2 separate regions of the Homo sapiens genome follow, and region 1 is linked to region 2. Evidence: promoter capture Hi-C in 16 types of primary human blood cells and fetal thymus (Javierre and others, 2016). All regions are on one chromosome and are shown on one strand. The core of a region is centred on a gene start or on the middle of the fragment in contact, and the rest is flanking DNA. Distances in the headings are between cores, read along the strand shown. Region 1 overlaps ANO10 (anoctamin 10). Region 2 holds the start of ABHD5 (abhydrolase domain containing 5, lysophosphatidic acid acyltransferase).

Region 1 (4,662 bases), core at 389-2,888, 150 kb after region 2:
ATATTGGGCAGTATGGTATAGTGGTTGAGAACATAGGTTCTGGGTTCAAATCCTGGCTACACCACTGACTAGCTCTGTGTCTTCAAATGAGTACCTACTTCTACAAACTTAGGAGGATTAAATGAATAAATGCATGCAGTATGTTTAGTACAGTGCCTGGCAAGATTAAGTGTTTAGTTTTGTTAGCTATTATTGTCATTGTTTCTGAAAAACAATCTGTTGTCATAGAAGTCTCTTCACCTAATTGAAAGGTTTGATTAAGTTCTGAGAATTCAGTTTAAAACTTAGCCTACAAAGGAGCCCACAACAAACTAAGTTACTAATCTGGTCACCATTTCCCATTGTTGAGCATGAGTTGGGTTGGTTTTTTATTTTTGGATTAGGGTGCTTTTGAATAGAATTATGGAACTGGGTTTTTTTTCTTCCTCCTCTTGTTTCCTTTATTCCTGTGATAATCTTGGAATTTACTAGTCTTTCCATGGGCTCTTTAGCTGTTATCTGGATAAAACATTGCTCTGTGTTCTCCTAATGTTGTGGGAATAATTAGTCAAATCAAATGCTTACATTGAATACATATTTATTATGTGCTAAAATATGCTAGGCATTACTATGATACATCCCTGGCTTCAGGAATGCTCACAGACAGAATTATGCAAGAGATACATTTCAGTGCAATAGGAGGCCTCTTTCTTCACCTCCTTCCCCTGTTAACCCAGCTCTCTCCATTCCCTCCTAACAGTGCCCTGACTAGTGCAGGCTCTGTTGGCCTGCTGAGTGGGCATTGGTGTGAGGATGATGGGGAAGATGTCCACTCACTGAGTTTATGGCTCACCAAGAGGCATTTTGTTCCCAAATCTGTTTATGTGTGGTATTCTTGTTACTGTAATTGGCATAATTTAATGAAATGGAATGGAGAATGATGAAAAGTGTGTGCTAAAATAGAGCCATCATTTCTATGAAAACCTTTGGAAAGACTTCATAAAGACAAATTGCTGTCAGATTGAATAAAGATGAGACAATTATAAAAGATTAGGGAAAAATCATCAGAATATGGACAGCCAGATTCTGTTTTTACATTGCTTCACAAGTGTCTTTAAGTTTTCACTCTCCTTTAAAGAAAACAAACCTGGGCATCTTAGACATTGTCTTATAGGTGTTATTTAGGCGCAGCAGAGAGTGAGACAGTCCATCACTGGATCCTACTCAGAGGAAGGGCCCTAGCTCTACAGCAAAAGATTTGCAAATTAGTGTACATTTAAATGTTTGCTAAAACAAAATGAATATATGCATTTTGTATGATTCTGCATTTTAGCTGTTTTGATTAACGAAGGAATTATTGGCCCCAATTGTGTCATCTAAATGGGCTTCTGTTCCTTGGGAGTGCTAAATTAGGATTTTAAGTTTGTCAAGTAATGGGAAATACTTGTTTTGTTGAAAAACCCAATGCCCTTGGAATTGATGGTTAATGTATAATCTGTTTAAATATGACTTAGTTAACATCCAGTTTTTGCAGATTACATTGCAATTTTTTAAGGTCTTACAGTGGGTAACCTAACCTGTTTCTTGCCTAAGAAAGTTTAGGAGAAGGCAAGTCTCACCCCTCTGCAAGAGATCGTTTTACACTCAGAATAGAGTTGTTTTCAGAAAACAATTGTCTGAAAGGAGGTAAGCATTAGAAAATTCAACAGCTTCTCTGTACTCTTAAGCCATAATTTCAAAGTCTGGCATCATTATTTTGTTTAAAGTGAAATCACAGAACATCATATGTATCCATATTCAAATGTAAATACTTCAGATATCCACAAACAAAAAACTGATTTGGGTTATTCATCTTTGAGGACTGTTGCTCTTGTCTCTTCTCATTTCATGCTTTCAAGACCTTCTGTCAATTACCTGCTCCCTCTGCTGTCTCCTACTGCACCCCAGCCTGTGCTTCCCGCTCTCAACAACAGACCTGCTAGGTGCGTCACCCTCCTCTGGGACCTGCTTGCTAACCTCATTCTTGCATGACAGTTAACTTTCCTTTCAGATGCCTGAACTGATCCAGAGTCAAACTGACCCTCTTTCTCTGACTTCCTATCTATTTTAATGGGGAGATAAAAAAGCACGTTTGGTTTTATTTTTTTTTTCTAGGTTGGAAAGCAAGTGTTGCTTTAGAAAGTTGAAAATAGACTTGCAACACATAAGAAACCCCTGTTCTTTGCAATATTGAGTTGTGTGTTGAGCAGTCTCAAATCTAATGGGAATACATTTGAGGTGGCTCTGTGTGGCAGGGGACCCGTTGAAAAAGTGGAATGTGGGGGCAGCTCCAGTACCAGGAGGGAGCAGGAGGGGTGAAATAAGAGACTGTAGGTTTTCTTAGGGAGAGTGGAGAGTATGAATTGGGGGATAAGAGGTAATGGATGGGGAAACTGATGGAGGGCTCTAAGGTCATGATGAAAACTTTATAGCCCATTTACATTTTATTCCAAAATGGTATTTTAAAAAACACTTTCAAAGTCATGACTGCAGTATTCATTTTCATTCACTAACATAAATTCTACTTGGCCATTCCAGTGATCTCTAAAAATGAATAGATTGTGGATTGAATTTACTGTATCTTCTTATTGTGAGATTGAACTTCCAATCCTCTCCTTACCAGGAGCAGCCTCTTCGTTGGGTTGAGGAAGCTGAAACAGTTCTTGTCTATGAAGCACCTGCCCCTGTGTGTGTAGACAGCAGGCCGTTCTCCATCCTGCATCCCCCTCTGCATCTAGCCTCTCCTGTCTCTGGTCCAACCACCCTCAAGTCCAAAAGACCAGCTGGAGTCTGCCTCAGCTTCTCCTCTTGATTGTTCTCAAATCCACCTCATTTTTTCCGTTTCTTCAGTCCTGTGGGTTAGATCCCAGTTCTTTATGCCTGCCATCGTTACAGTTTTTTTCTTCTGCCAGAATTACAAAGCTGCCATAGTAATTGTTGTTAAAAAAACCTGTTCTTTAAGGTATCCTTCTGTATTTTCACATAACTTGTTTTATTTCCGTTTTAAAAATTTTTTCTGAATTTCTAGTCAGTGCTGGAGATACAAAGAAAATAAATTCACCCTTCTTTTGGAAGAGCTGGACTCACAAGCAAGATCATTTCAGTACAGTTTTTGATACCTCTTTTCTTATTTTTTTTCCTCAGTTAAAATGCTGTTCTTAAATTCATATTTGTCAATGTGTAGACCCTGTTCAATAACCCATTTCTTTAGGAATGGTTTCCCACATTAACAATACCCCAAACTCAAAATGCTGTGTTAGTATGCTACGTCAAATTTCACTTTTAGAAACACTTAGCTGTTTTTTTTATACTGAAATTTTATATCAAAAATAGGGCCAGGTCTAACTATCATTTTTTAGTATCATAGACATTTATGTATTTTGGGTTTGGTGAAATGGTATAAATTTGACCAGATCTTAATGTTTCTAGTTATTTTGATATGTTGTATTTGTTCTTATGTCTTGTTACTTCTGTCCCCCCACCCTTTTTAGTCTGTAGCTTAAAAGCTTCAGAGGGTCTTTAGTTTCTTTTGTAGTCCTCCAGGGTGCCATGTGGCTAAGACTGGATTAAATTAGAAACTATGTGACGGTGGTTTGTGGACTCCAGGGTGCTTACAGATGTAAGATGTTAATACTACTACTATAATTTCCTCCTAACTAATAAAATGTGTTCCCAGTCCCATTATGTTATGTTACTGAAATCGACTATTTCTAAGGATATTAAGAACAATGAACAGAAAAGAAAGGTTTTTGAATATTGGTTACTTTCTAAGAAAATTTCTTCCTATCTGACGTATATTAGTTACGTGTGTGTGTGTGTGTGTGTGTGTGTGTGTGTGTGTGTGTGGTTTATAAAGTATGCCTGCTCTGAGCCTGAGATCATGGTTCTGCTCTGGTGGATGGAGCAGGAGGTGGAAGGTGAGCTGCAGAATGTAAAGATATGGTTGCCCCCAAGCTGTCATCATTGGGCCCCAGCTGTGACCATTTTTAGGAAGCTTGTAATGCTTCTATTATCCTTTCCATTTCAGCACTTCACACAGAACTAATTGGCACCATCTGTGCTAATAATTAAGCCTGTGATGTGGTCACTGGTGCACAAGGAACTCAGGTTGAGGGAATATTTCACAGCAAAAAGGAGGTGGGATATGAGTAGAAAGAATACAGTTTGTTGATATTCTTTTATGCTGGAAAAGGAAACCCAAGGAAAGAGGAGCTCTCTGATAGACCAATGATATTCTTCCACAGCCTATAAGCCTCTTACCCACTGAGTGTGTAGGAAGGACATATGAGCAAGATGACAGGTAGAGCTCTTGGCATTGTCTTCTCTTTGCTATTAAATTTGTCCCGGAGATTGCTGTAATATACATCTAGTCTACGTTTGGACATTAAAACTTAACCGAGGATGGTTGCCAAGGACTCAGAGTAAGGTGAAAGGTGAGGGCTTTTTTTTTTTTTTTTTTTTTGAGTGATGAAATTGTTCTGTATCTTGATTATGGTGATGGTTTCACAGCTGGGTGCATTTATTAAAACTGAAAGTGCTATACACCAAGATGAGTGATTTTCTATTTAAGTTAAAAGGTAAATTTTAAAATGTATAAAAACTTGTTGAAAAAATGCTTTAGAAAATCTTTTGTGGCTTAGGACA
Region 2 (4,740 bases), core at 385-2,884:
CCACTTCTGTCTAGAAACTATGGCTGATCAGCTGCTAAGGATTTTTTAATCATCTACCTCCAATGACCTCCAACCATCACTCCAAGCCATAAAACCCTTTCACGATTGTGTCCTGGACTCCAAGGCCCCACTACATCAAAACCAAATAGTCCACCTGAAAGTAGTGTCAAGAGTCAAAAATGTTGTGACAAACAAGATGAGAACACAACCTACCAATTACGTTCCTACTTGCGTCCACATGACATTCAACATTTCACCTCAGTGCAACGAGGAAGTTCATCAACAAACCTCAACAAATAAACAAAACTCAAGAGAATAACTTCCTTTCTAATATTTCACAATTTTTCCCCATGACATCTTTCCAAATATCCCTGTCTTCATGGTACTCCATATTCTATCATTTAGGTTATGTTTCCTAGGCAAATTTCTCCAGACGTCTGAAGTAGAACCGACGTCAAAAAATTAAATATATATGGGGGAAGTTTACTTTCCAATACAAACGACAGGCCTTGAGAAACAAGGCAATAACCTCCATAACAATTTAATTATTCCACTCATTAACTACTATTCTTCTACTAACAAGTGCAAGAAGTCATTTAGGTGTAGAAAAGAATAAACTCACTATACCTGTATATAAAAAAGTTTCACATTAGACATCTGCCCTCCAACTTCCACAGTTTCCTATACATTATGTGTGTTCTTCTAAGGCACATGCAACACACACTTCGCCAGTAAAGCCAGAATAATCCCAGAAGCGCAAACAAATAAGGGACAGTGGAGCTTGCAAGCCAAAGACCTTCATCCGAAAGATGAATTATGACATTTGAACGTGTATCTCTATCTTAAGGGCTAACTTTCTTTCTATGAAGTATCTGAAACTCACAGCCATACACCCACTTCCCTCACTCCTTCTCCCCTCCCTCCTTCCCGGCACCCCCGCCCTCCCGCCGCTTCCCGGGCGAATTCGGGCCTCTAATATCCCCTCCAAGGAAGCGCCGCCCCTTCCTACGGCTACGGGAAGGATCGTCCAGTGGCTGAGGCTGGACAGAGCACAGGTAGTACCTGTAGACGGAAGCCGCGATGGGAGGCTGACAGACCCGGTCATTTCCCGCGCCTCGCAGTCAGGTGCAGGGTCGACCGGGCACCGCCCGCCGGCGGCATTGGGGCAGGCCGGGTCCCTTGGCAGAGCCCGAGCCGGTGCGGCCGCCGCGGCCAGCTCCGTCGCCGGCCCGCGGGGTGGCTTATACAACAACGGGGCGGACCCTCCGCGCGGGGTCAAGGCGGCCTCCCGGCGCGGCCGGAGTCCGGCTCAGACACCTCGGGGCCCCGACGCTGAGGGGAGCCTCTCCCAGGCAGAGCGGCGCCGGGACGCCTCTGGGCGCCGCGCGGACTCATGCCGGGGAGGGTCGAGGAAGCCGCCCGTCGTCGCCAGGCGGGCGGCGACTCCTTGGTGCTGCCCGCTGGGCCCTAACCCGGCCCGCGCGGAGGGTGCGCGCCGGAGACACACGAAGCCCCCTGCCGGCTGCGCTTACCTCTCTCCGGTGTCGGCAGAGTCCACCTCCTCCTCCTCCGCCGCCATAGCCGCCGCCGCGCAAGCGCCGGGACTTATCTCGAAGCCGGCTGACAGGCCGACTGGGCCGCCCCGGGCTGGCGCGGCACTTAAGGCGGCGCAGGCCGCCAGCGCATGCGTCTTCCGCGCACTAGCACGGCCCGGCGGCGCGCCCGCGTTTGCGCGTGCGCGGCCTTGCCTCCGGCTTTGCGTCCGCCATCCCCAGCCAGCATGCACTAGTTCTCCCGCCCGACGCTCCCGGGTGTAAGCGCGGGGCGGGACAGTCAGCCCAGAGGGACTGGCGAGACTCACCCGAATGAGTTAGGTGTTTTAGCTAATTTGAATAATGACTGTATTCATGCATCACCCCGTCGGTGTTGGCTGTCAGGTGGCACCTTGGGGACGGAGGTGCGTCCGGTCCTGGAAGAGCCTAGCTAGTGTCCGATAGATGGTGCAGTGGCAAATGAAATGGCGTAATCGAGGTGCTGTGTGGCGTCCCGCCAGCCTTTCCCCGCGGGTTGGGGGGCCAGGGGGAGAGGGCGACTCACAGGAGCCTTCAGTCAGTTGAGCACTGCTCTAGGTGCTGATGTTACTGTAGTGGCCAGAGCCAGCAATTTCCCTCCCACTCGACTCTCTAGATACCTGGGAGGGTGAAAAGAGTCGGTGTTGGCCGGGCGCGGTGGCTCAGGCCTGTAATCCCAGCACTTTGGGCGGCCAAGGCGGGCGGATTTTCTGAGGTCGGGAGTTGGAGACCAGCCTGAGCTGAAGAAACCCCGTCTCTATTAAAAATACAAAATTAGCCGGGCGCGGTGGCGCATACCTGTAATTCCAGCTACTCGGGAGCCTGAGGTAGGAGAATCGCTTGAACTCGGGAGGCGGAGGTTGCGGTGAGCCGAGATCGCACCATTGCACTCCAGCCTGGGCAACAAGAACGAAACTCCGTCTCAAAAAAAAAAAAAAAAGTCTATGTTTAGGTACTTCGAGTTATTGAGGTGAAATGACTAACCTAAATAGCAGTATTTCTTGACCTGTTTTCAAGCCTTTTAGCAATCAGGTGCAACCTGCTTTTGGAATTCTGCCACCCACTACTACTCATCCATTTATGTTTGGTGTGTGTCTACTATGGGCTCACTTTGTTCTAGGTGCTTGAAAACAATGGGTTGAAATACTGCTCCTGTTTTGATAGATCCTACGCGAATATATTAACCTTTATTTTAGACTCAGTTCATTGTTCTCCTTCCCTGACTCTCCTCCCTCTTTTTCTCTCCTCTGAGCCCCACTGTAAACCTGTCTTTATCACCCATCTAGCTCTCAGGTTCTCAGCCTTGTGTAATTGTTACAGCTTTTAAATAAACATTATCGAATATCTTTCCAACTACACGAGAAAGTCCTCTAGGATAGGAATGGTGTCTTCTGTAATTTAGAGGGGGGAAAGCCACTTATAATCTCTTAGGCATAGTAATAACTAATACATTTTTTATTGTGTTTGATCTAATTCATAAAATATTTTAGGGAAGACCAGAACATATAAAAAACATTTTTACAGGAATTCCTGGTTGTTTCATGAAAGGGCCGTATATTCAAAGTGACCTCCAAATACAGAAGGAGCTGAGAAACTAAAGAATGAAGGAGACAAATCCAGCTTGTCAGCAAAAGGTGATTTATTAGGGAACTTACGGACAGAAGCATGGTCTTGGACAGCAGCAAGACAGGTAAATCTCTGTGCTGTTACCCTCCCAGACTAAGGTTGTTTTGACCTAAGGGCAGGTAGGTAAGTATGTGCTCTGATACAATTTGGGTGTTGTCCTCTCTAAATCTCATGTTGAATTGTGATCTCCAGTGTTAGAGGTGGGGTTTGATGGGTGGTGATTAGATTCTGGGGGTGAATTTCTCATGAATGATTTGGCACTATCCCCTTAATGCTGTCCTTGCAATAGTAAGTTCTTGTGAGATCTGGTTGTTTAAAAGTGTATGGCACCTACCCCTCACTCTCTTGCTCCTGCTCTAGTCATGTAAGATGCCTGCTCCCGCTTTGCCCTCTGCCGTGAGTAAATGCTCCCTGTGGCCTTTCCAGAAGCCAAGCTGATACCAGCACCTGTATAGCCTGCAGAACCATGAGCCAATTAACCTTTCTTTATAAATTACCCAGTCCCAGGTAATTCTTTTTTTTTTTTTTTCTAAGACGGAGTTTCACTCTGTTGCCCTGGCTGGAGTGCAGTGGCATGATCTTGGCTCTCTATGACCTGCACCTCCCAGGTTCAAGCAATTCTCCTGCCTCAGCCTCCTGAGTAGCTGGGATTCCAGGCACCCGCCACCACGCCCAGCTAATTTTTTGTATTTTTAGTAGAGATGGGGTTTCACCATGTTGGCCAGGCTGGTCTTGAACTCGTGACCTCAAATGATCCTCCCTCCACTGCCTCCCAAAGTGCTGGGATCACAGGCATGAGCCACCGCGCCCAGCTGTATTTCTTTATAACAATGTAAGAACAGCCTGTCACATGCTCTTATACAAGGAACAATAGATAAAGTAGAAAACTTGGAGGCCTTCCCAAAACTGGGGTTACTCAGAAATCAACATTGTGGATTAGCATCTGAGATGGAGTTACTTTAGCCTCCACAATAGTGTTGCCAGACACTTGTAGTGTGTCTGCAGAAACTGATGCCCTACAATCCCACCTCTCAGAGTGTCTGTTGAAGACCCTACCGCCTGGAACACAGTGCAAGCCCAGTGGTACTGAGTCCAGTAATGAAACCTTAGGATTTTGCAGCAACTCCTGTAGCGCTTTGGTCTTTATGGACCTGGAGTCTGCTCTCAAAGATGCCTGTGCCTGCTGCACAGTCACAAAAAAAGAAAAGAAAGAAAAAAAGAGAGAAAGAGACCATTGATCCAATACTAGAGTTTATGCAGAAACTGACAAGCAGTGCATAGGACTACAGGACTTCATGATCTTCCTCAACTCTGGGAGTAGCTCTGTTCTAGCTTCACCTTGCTGCTGATGGAGTCATCTTCAACAATGGCAAGAAATCCAAGCTAGAATTGGCCATCCACCTATCCCCTGGGTGTTGCCAGCAATGGTGGAACCCTACAACTCTATCCTGACCACCGTGCCACCCTGGAACCCTTGGACTGTGTCTTCTTGGGAGACAATGGACCAACACATGTCATTGCAACCTATACCCCCAGGGCCCCA

What was found. The method cuts DNA at HindIII sites, captures the fragments that hold promoters and counts their contacts. A CHiCAGO score of 5 or more calls a contact.
Region 1: a fragment that was not itself captured here is called in contact with the fragment with the promoter of ABHD5 in region 2 in 1 of 17 cell types (erythroblasts); the score reaches 5.2 in erythroblasts.

The regions. Positions count from the first base shown.
Region 1 is chr3:43,536,814-43,541,475 of GRCh38, reverse strand. All of the region lies in intron 11 of ANO10 (anoctamin 10), which reads left to right. Among named protein-coding and RNA genes, the nearest start is that of ANO10, 83 kb to the left of the region's middle. RefSeq lists an enhancer at 4,396-4,662. The HindIII fragment of the contact is 3,777 bases long and covers 1-3,526 here.
Region 2 is chr3:43,687,832-43,692,571 of GRCh38, reverse strand. It overlaps ABHD5 (abhydrolase domain containing 5, lysophosphatidic acid acyltransferase), which reads right to left and starts at 1,634. Exons shown (of 7, transcript NM_016006.6): 1 at 1,533-1,634. The coding sequence starts at 1,579. It also overlaps a transcript of ANO10 not described here and the pseudogene TUBAP3. RefSeq lists a silencer at 983-1,462. The HindIII fragment of the contact is 11,295 bases long and covers 1-4,740 here.